Linked DNA regions of Homo sapiens: region 2 is linked to region 1. Evidence: promoter capture Hi-C in 16 types of primary human blood cells and fetal thymus (Javierre and others, 2016). All regions are on one chromosome and are shown on one strand. Each heading gives the region's core, a stretch centred on a gene start or on the middle of the fragment in contact. The rest is flanking DNA. Distances are from core to core; before and after follow the strand shown.

The links. The method cuts DNA at HindIII sites, captures the fragments that hold promoters and counts their contacts. A CHiCAGO score of 5 or more calls a contact.
Region 2: a fragment that was not itself captured here is called in contact with the fragment with the promoter of JAM2 in region 1 in 1 of 17 cell types (non-activated CD4 T cells); the score reaches 5.1 in non-activated CD4 T cells.

Annotation. Positions count from the first base shown.
Region 1 is chr21:25,636,988-25,641,557 of GRCh38, reverse strand. JAM2 (junctional adhesion molecule 2) reads right to left here and starts at 2,300. Exons shown (of 10, transcript NM_021219.4): 1 at 1,670-2,300. The coding sequence starts at 1,736. RefSeq lists enhancers at 1,318-1,387, 1,290-1,790, 2,528-2,667 and a silencer at 2,118-2,307. The HindIII fragment of the contact is 2,383 bases long and covers 109-2,491 here.
Region 2 is chr21:26,703,295-26,707,864 of GRCh38, reverse strand. No RefSeq gene overlaps it. Among named protein-coding and RNA genes, the nearest start is that of CYYR1, 130 kb to the right of the region's middle. The HindIII fragment of the contact is 4,185 bases long and covers 551-4,570 here.

The DNA of each region.
Region 1 (4,570 bases), core at 1,051-3,550:
CTTTTAGTATCCCAGGAACAATATAGAAAAGTCCCCACAACACTTCCAAATACATCCCCTATAGGAATCAAGTTTAGCAGAGACAATGTGTTATATTTACCTAAAGCTTGAAGAGGTCACTCAGCCCCATTCATTTATGCTTTTGTTCGCCTCTTGGTTGTTTCTCCACTACAATTTCAGACTTGGGGTGTATTGTTTCTATGTTGGTGATTCAATAGGAATAGCACAGCAGAACGATTTTCTGTTTTTAATTAGTGACAATTCTACACTAAAAGGCACACTCTTTTCTATTTGAAATTTAGAATTTCAGCAGAATACATAACTTTCTCAGTTGTTCTGTTAACGATTTCTCCAGCCTACCTCTCTGTTGCCTTTTAGCATGAGTGCATTTTTTTTCTTCTGTGTGTTCCATATGATACCAATTGATATTTCAGAATTGCACAAGGGTTTCATTGTGAAACTTTGGCTTTCTGGTTTGACTTTATATAATATTGGTCAGTACATGTCCCTTGCCTGAGACAATGTGCACCTTCCTCCTCCACAAAGGGACGTGGCTCACATCACTTGAGCTGTGCGATGATCACTTGGGCAGCGAGGGCGTGAGAAAATATCATTGTATTGTGGTATTAGACACTCGTCCCGCAGGTTAAGTATTATAAGTGTTACTTTACCAGAACGTGAATAGCAACAATAACTCATTTTACAAAAGAAAGAAAGAGAGACAGAAAGAAAGAGAGAGAGAAAGAAAGAAGAAAGAGAAAGGAAGGGAGGAAGGAAGGAAGGGAAAAAAGCAAAACAAAAAAGGTGAGAGAAAAAAGAAAAAGCAAAAGTAGAACTGCATTGCTTAGTCTATTGTAATTTCCTCCATTTTCCTAAAAAGTTAACGCGAAGAAAACAAAATAACGGCAACGTTCCCAGGATTTCAAATCTCATGAGTCCAGAATCCGTGAAAATCCTGTTTAAAATCATCCGGTGAAATTGGCTTTGGGACGTCTCCCCAGCTACTGGATCATGTGGCTTCTGAATCTTTCTAACAATCGTCCCGTTGGATGTCCCCTGAGGACAGAGCAGCTGGCTAGAGTCCCCAGACCAGACTTCTCTAAGTGAATGTAGATGTGCAGGTGGAGAGGATAAAAGTAATTCTGGCTCAGCAGCCACGAATTCCCTCCACCTCCGCCCCACAAGTGCGCTGCATATCGCCGGCTCAGCTGGGACGCTACAGAGCCCAGACCACGCGGACGCTGCCCCCTCCCCGGGGACTCAAAGTGTGGCCGGCGCCCGCCTCCCAGTGATGCCATCTTTCTTGGGGTCTTAGCATCTTACCAGTGGGTAGTGAGTTTTGCATTCGAATCACGTCCCTCTGTCTGAAAACTTACCCCAACTTTGCAAACAGATGAGAACCTGCTAGTGGGAACCCTTAATTTTCTGTATCTAGAACTGACAAAATCAGACGCAATTCACAAGAAACCCACGACCTCGCGCTCCCTTGCTCCCAGCGTCCGCTCGCGGGCACCCTGGGTTTCCCGCTCGCCTGGGCGCAAGGTCAGACGCCCCGCGGCGACCTCGGCCCAGAGCCGCCCAGACACTGTCAGCCAGCGCCCCGTGGGGGGCTGGAGGGTGGGGGCAGGCTGGTCCAGGCAGGAAGGGTAGAGGAACCCGAGCAACTTACAGCCCAGGGCGACCACCAGGTAGCGCAGCAGCAGCAGGAGGAGGCGGTGGCGGCTCCTCCTCGCCATCTTCCCGGGGCGGCAGCCGGCTGCTCTGAGGAGGTCGAGGGTCCCGGCGGCAGGAGCGCAGGAGGCCGGGGGCCCTTGAACTTCTGGGGCGGGAAAGGAGCAGAGAGTCGGGAGGGGAGGAAGAGGAGGGACGGCTCTAGATGGGATGTCAGTTTCCCCCTCCCCGGGGCGCCTTCTCAGCTGGCTGCCAAGAGGCGGGTCCTCCAGCCCAGGGATGGGGGTCTGTTCTGTTTTGGGGGTGTGGGGGTAGGGGCTAGAGGGCGTGAAAACCAGACGAGGCGTCCGCCGGGTCCTAGCGAGGGGGCAGCAGGAGGAGAGCAGCGCCCGGGAAAGCCCCGGCGGGTCGTCCCTCCGCCCCCACGCCTCCGGGATTGATCGGCTTTGTGTCTGGTCCGCGCGGGGCTGCCAGCTGTCCCCAGGGCGAGGAGCTGGGGGCGGGAGGCGCGGGCAGGCTGGGGGTGGGGGGATTGGGTGTCTCGGGGACGGGGATGTATGCGGGTAGGGAAACGCCTCCTGTTTTGCCCCAACTCCTTTCTTCCCCTCGTTGGCTCAAAACTTCTTTCTGGCTTTTCAGCCTAGGGGTGGAGATATTTGGAAAATTCTGCCCAACGGGCGAAGCTGAGGGGGTGGCGCTCTGAGGAGATGGGGTTCGCGGGCTCCGCCTCGAACTCGAGAAAAAAAAAAGCAATCAAGACTCGTGCTGGAAGTCAGGTCTCAGATTTTAGTACAGCCTTGGTCCCTTCTCAGTTTAAGCTTTTTGCTCCTTGGAGATTTGAGGTGCATTTGTCTCGCGTTCTTGTTCTTTGCTTTTTTTTCAGTGTCAGAGTTGGAAGTTCATCTAATGGTGTGAAATATTTATCATGTTTCTTTCAAGTTACATAACTGCTGCTTGTGGAGTTTTCCACGTGTTAAAACTCTACAGCTGCCCTTTGTCAGGTTTATTTTTGGTCTACTGTGCTTTTAAAAGGGAAACCCATTATGAATGCTCTGTTGCGTGCTTTAAAATTGCACCACACTTACATTGGACGCACGTACACTGGCAATTTTTATATTTGTTCCTAGGGACCAAAAATGTATGGTGTATTCAAGAGTATTGGCAGGTCTGGAAAAAGGCCATTCCCAGGAGAAGAAATTAGTATACATCAGTTTTTTTCTTTTGTTTTTTTGTTTGTTTTTGTTTTTGTTTTTTTTTAAAGGTTGAATAATGGATGAAGTTCTGTACAGCAGATAGTTGATTTAGTGGTGTATTTAAAAAGAATTCAGCTAGCTCAGTGGACAAAGGCGACCAGAGTTTAGCTGTGCAGAACTGTGAGGAATGAGGCATCCTTGCTGTTGCCGTGGTGACAGTGATGAAAACTTAGTACCCAGGGAGGGGGTGGGAGGAGAGGACCCAGGGGACCCAGAAAGGAAAGTCAAAATGGCAAAATGTTAAAACTCGTACTCCAGTCAACCGAGGAGAAGGGGCACAGATTTAACAACAGCTTATGCCAGTTTTTCTGGGCAGTAATGAGAAGGATTTGATGCTTAAAAAGAAAAGTTGTTGGCATCTTCTTTTTTCTAATTCTTGCTACAGCTATATGTCTTTTACTCCTCCCTAAAAATATACACAAAAATGTCATACTTAAAAAAATTCTATGCAATCCTATGTGAGTAACTGACTAAGTTATTTATTTGCCACCCAGCCAAGGCATTTGACAAATGGCAACAATGTGCTGGATGCTGAAGGACAACCATGAACAAGATAGAGGCTTTCTTGCTAACAAGCTCACAGTCTTGAGGGGAGACAGAGTCTTATCAGGAAAGATGCCTGATACCACATGGTAAATGTTACAGGAGGACAGAAAATAATAACAGCTATTTTTATTGCATGCTTTCTCAGTGATGGAGTCTGAATAACGCAATATCTAATCCCCCAACAACTCCATAAAAGAGGAAATGTTATCATTCCCACTTTGCAGATGAGAAAACTGGGCGGAGAGACACTAAATGGCTTGTCCAAGGTCCATGATAAGGGGCTGTTCCTTTTGTTGGGAGTGGGGCCAGGGCTTTCTTTATTAAACCTTGAAAAATGGGTCAAATTCTGAAGGGAAGGACATAAAGGAGAGGCATTCTACATAGAGGAAACAGCAGGATCCAGAGCTAGGAGATTGAAAAATTATGGTTTATTTAGAAAAAGCAAGGTTCTACAGTACTAAAGTGTATGTGGGATCGGGATAGTGAGGTAGGTGGTGGTGGTGGTAGAAACTGAAGGGGAGGTTAGAGTACGAAGAGCATTCACGCTACTGTCTAGACCTCATCCTACAGCTAATGAGCTTTTTGAAAGCAATGAGATAAGAAAAGACTCATATTTTAGAACTGTGGTGTCCAATATGGTAGCCTATAGATCTAAGTGGCTATATACATTTTTTTTGTTTTGTTTTTAATTTGAGACAGAGTCTCACTTTGTCACACAGGCTGGAGTACAGTGGTGCAATCTCAGCTCACTGCAACCTCCGCCTCCCAGGTTCAAGTGATTCTCCTGCCTCAGCCTCCTCAGTCCAGTAGATGGGACTACAGGCATGTGCCACCATGCAGGCTAATTTTTGTATTTTTTGTAGAGATGGGGTTTCGCCATGTTTGCCAGGCTGGTCTCGAACTTCTGACCTCAGATGATCCACACGCCTTGGCCTCCCAAAGTGCTGGAATTACAGGTGTGAGCCACCATGCCTGGCTGGCTATATAAATTTGAATTCAATTATATGTAAAATGCAGTTCTCCACTGACACTGATCACATATGAATTTCTCAATAGTCACATGAGGGTAGGGGCTACCATATTGGAAAATGTATTTCCAT
Region 2 (4,570 bases), core at 1,394-3,893, 1.1 Mb before region 1:
TCCTGGAGCATCCTAACTAGTACACACGTTATGAGAGCCAAGAGACAAGCTGTGCATATATTAAGCTTGACATGTTAAAAGAGTCTACTTTTGGATAAGTTAAACTCAACATGTTAAACTTTTCCACTTAGACAACACATTCTCTCATCTAAATGTGTAAGTCAGGTAGAGTTTAAAAGAGAAAGCTAGCTAGAGAGAAAAATTAGGACTTGACATCTTTTTTGATTGTATGTACTCTCTGACAATAGATGAGTCTACCTTGCGCTACAAAGTCTGTCATAGATGAATCTAACTTGTGCTACAAAATGCTGAATAAAATATTGCAAATATTGTTGAAAAGAAGGGCTAATTTCTGAGAAGGCCAGGGAAATACCTAGGAGGCAAACACAGATGCATCCTGTCGCTGCCCTGGCAGTGAGCTTGCCAGTTTCAGTAACAACAGGGCTTAGTCTGGAAAACCACACAGGAACAAAAGAGAAGGCTATGAAGATGGTAAAGTGAGTTGAAAATAAAACCCAAAATTGCATAATGCAATGATCCTCAAAAAGCTTCCCCTCATGGAACACATGGATTAGGAGAAAAATATGTAACAACAAGAAATCTTGCCTGTCTCTAATGGGTCTTGGGGGAGGGAGGGATCTCACCTGAGAATTTATAATCACTATATTGTGGATTTAGGGATATGAATTTACTAAACTAAGAAATTTGGGAAATTAACATAAAAATTGTTTCTGGCGGATGATACACTTGAGTACCTGACACACCCTCCATTCTGGCAGCAGAGAATTCTCACTGATAAAGCCAGGATGAAGATAATTTCTCAATCCAAAATTAAAAATAGCAGGGGAAACATGGTGAGTTTTGTAGTCTCAAGGAAGACAATAACCTAAGTGTTTTCACCTTGGAAAGGTACTTTGCAATGTCATGTTAAGTTGATTAGTAAACTTGAATGCACACATATTCTACAACCTGTTAATTCTTCTCACTAGAGTAATGCCTAAGAAAATTTACAAGAACTTTTTTTGCAGCATGGTTTGTTTTCATACAGCAAAATTAATAACAACCTGTATATTATTCTAGAGGAGAAAGCATAAGTATATTATCACAAATTCAAACAATAGAAAACTATACAGCAGTGGAAAATGAGTAAGCCAGAGATAGATAGATAGATAGATAGATAGATAGATAGATAGATATCATCATCATCATGGAAAAAAATCACAAAAACATATTGTTAAGTGAACAAAGGAAGCTGCAGAAGAATGCCATTTACATGAGATTTAAGAACTGTGTAATATCCCTACAATATAGTTGATATAGTTTGGATATGTGTCCCCACCCAAATCTCATGTTGAATTGTAATCCCCAGTATTGGAGGTGAGGCCTGGTGGGAGGTGATTGGATCATGTGGGTGGATTTCTTGTAAGTGGTTTAGCACCAGCTCCTTGGTGCTCTCCTCACAGTGGTGAGTGAGTTGTTGAGAGATCTGGTTGCTTAAAAGTGTAGAGCACCTTGCTCTAACTCTCTCTTGCTTCTTCTTTTGCCATGTGATGTGCCTGCTCCTGCTTCACCTTCTGCCATGAGTAAGTGCTCCCTGAGACCTCCCCAGAAGCCAAGTGATGTTGGTGCCATGCTTATACAGCCTACAGAACTACAAGCCAATTAAACCTCCTCTGTAAAAAATGTAAATTATCCAATCTCAGGTATTTCTTCATAGCAATGCAATAATGGCCTAATACACCCTATGTCTTATTTATTAATACCTTGATAATAAGCAGTAGATACAAATTCAGAATATCACGGATACCTTGGAATGGGATTTGGGGGCTAGAGAGGGGTTTATTTTAACCAGTTATTTTACTTTTAAAAATTGTGAAACAAATTTCCCAAAGTTTTGGGATTTGACAAAAGTGGATAGGAATTACACAAGTTACTACTAAATTTTCTCTATATTTTTCTTATTGTCTAAAGTGTGTATGATAGTGACAAAGAAATGCTGAATGGAACAAAAGAGAGTAGACACTGTGGGTATAGACAATCCTTTGACAGCATTTGGCTATAAAGGAATGGAGAAAATTTGTATTGGAAAGATAGGCATCAAAGGAAAGTTTATCTTTTAGTTTTGTTTTAATTTTTAATGTTGGTGATAGTGCAGGTTATGTGCCTCCTAAAGAAAATTATCCAGCTGAGAGGGAGAATTTAAAGATGCATGATCAAGACATAATAACTCGAGAGTTAAAGTCCCTGAGGAGAGGAGAGGCAGAGTGTCCCAGGACACTTGTGAAGATCTGGCCTTTAGTAGAAGAAGAGAAACTAGGTTAATTAGCCTGGGCAAGGCCCCAGTCATAATTACAAAAATGTATAAAATTATCTTTGTGACTGAGGTCTGAAATATGAGATTCAAAATCCATTGTTGTAACACAAAATGGAAACATAGAGTTATTTTCATATGTTACAACTACATCTCATTTAAATGATTTTACTAGAACATGAAATTTGGAGAGTACGGGTCTATGTCCTGACCTCTTTTATTCAGAAAACCAGACTTTAGTAGGTAAATTTCATTCAATCATGGTTTAGCTACCCTGAAGGCAGAGGCATGACTACTTAGAATTTTATTATTGTGAAATGTCAGTGTACAAAGCATAATAGAAAATGACACCTCATAACAAAGGATTCTAGGTAATTTTATGCTTTATTTTTCCCCAAAAGCAGCATGAATACCATGTCTCTAAGTTAAAGCACAGCTGTACTGATGTAAGATGGTGGGCAGGATGCTGAAAGACATCATCTTGTCATGATTTCCCTGTAATGATCTTTCTTCTCAGAGATAATTCAATAGTTACAATCCCATTGTCTGTCAAGTAGAAATATATTCCCCTTAAGTAGCCATAATTTTATTATCTTCCCTGTGAATCAATTCTTCAGAATGTTGCTTCTCTCAGAAATGTTTTCTAGTAATCCTACCATTTCACAGCTCATTTGCACCTTTGCAAGAAACATGCATGTTGGAATTGAATGGAAAAGGAAATTAAAATTAATCCTTTTATGTTGGAATCAGTGTTGTGATGTGTTAGATTCGTGGAAGAAAGATTTGTTGGGATGGAGTTCAAAGATCTTGGTAAAGTAGTATCATTCCTGTTCCCTGAATATCCAGTAATTAAGTTGGCTTACTCCCCTCCCCTAATATTGAAAAGAGAATTTCAAAGCAATAGGTAACAAAGGTCAAAATGGATATACAGCAGGGCCAGAAATAATACATCATTTCCACAATATCCATGTGTGGTAGGTAAAATAATGGTCCCCACAGACATCCATGTCACAATCCCCAGACATGGGAATATGTTACAAGAAAAAGAGGACTTCGGTATTAAGGTAGGGATCTTGAGATGGGGAAAGTATCCTGGATTATCTGGGTGAGTCCATTCAATTCACAAGACTTCCATGTGAATTGTAAAATGGTCTCTGAATTGGACCCTCCCTTATAAAAGGGAGGCTGAAGGGTCAAGTTCAGAGAATGAGGTGTGATGATTAAAGCAGAGGTCAGAGTGTGTAAGGGCCCATGAGCCATGGAATGGGGGTAGCTTTGAGAGGCTGAAGAAGGCAAGAGAACAGATTCCCCCCTAGATCCTCCAGAAGGAACACAACCCTGTAACCATTATAGACTTCTAGCCCCCAGAACTGTAAGATAATAAATTTGTGTCATTTTAAGCTATCAAATTTGTAGTAATTTGTTACACCAGCAATGGGAAACCCATACAACATGTATAAAGATCTCAACACAATGCATCACACATAGCACTGTTTTCATTATTGTTATTGTCTAGTATTTTTCTTACTCTTCTTTGGGCTTGCTCTATATATTTAGTTAATTTGCCATTATTTAATTCTAGGCATTGTGTGAAAATGAACTTTCTATTCTATTGTTATGATTTTCAGTTATGGAATCTGAAATAAAATCGTGAATACACTACCATGTTTCAGAAATTATTAGAAATAGAAGGCAACTGCATGCCTTGAAGATTGTCTTTGTGTTGCAAGTGAGAGTTTTTACTGGCTGGTTAAAAAAAAGGCGCTAAATTATGGCATCCATTTGTATGAAGAATTGAACTGCTAACCTTGTGATGTCTTTGGCATATTCTACAGAATTGTGCTTCTTGGGAGCTGAGCTGACAACATACATATCAGTTCCCTCTTCCTCTTTTTCTAACTCCTAAAACAAGCCTGAATACTATGTAATATGGTTTGGCTGTGTCCCCACCCAAATCTCATTTTGAATTTTAGCTCCCATAATCCCCATGTGTTGTGGGGGGGACCCAGTGGGAGGTAATTGAATCACAGAGGCAGGTTTTTTCCATGCTGTTCTCATAATAGTAAATAAGTCTCATGAGATCTGCTGGTTTTATAAATGGCAGTTCCCCTGGACAAACTCTCTTGCATGCTGCCGTGTAAGCCTCTGCTCCTCCTTTGCCTTCTACCATGCTTGTGAGGTCTGCCCAGCCATGTGGAACTGTTAGTCCATTAAACCTCCTTTTCTGTATAAATTGCTCATCCTCGGGTATTTTTTCAT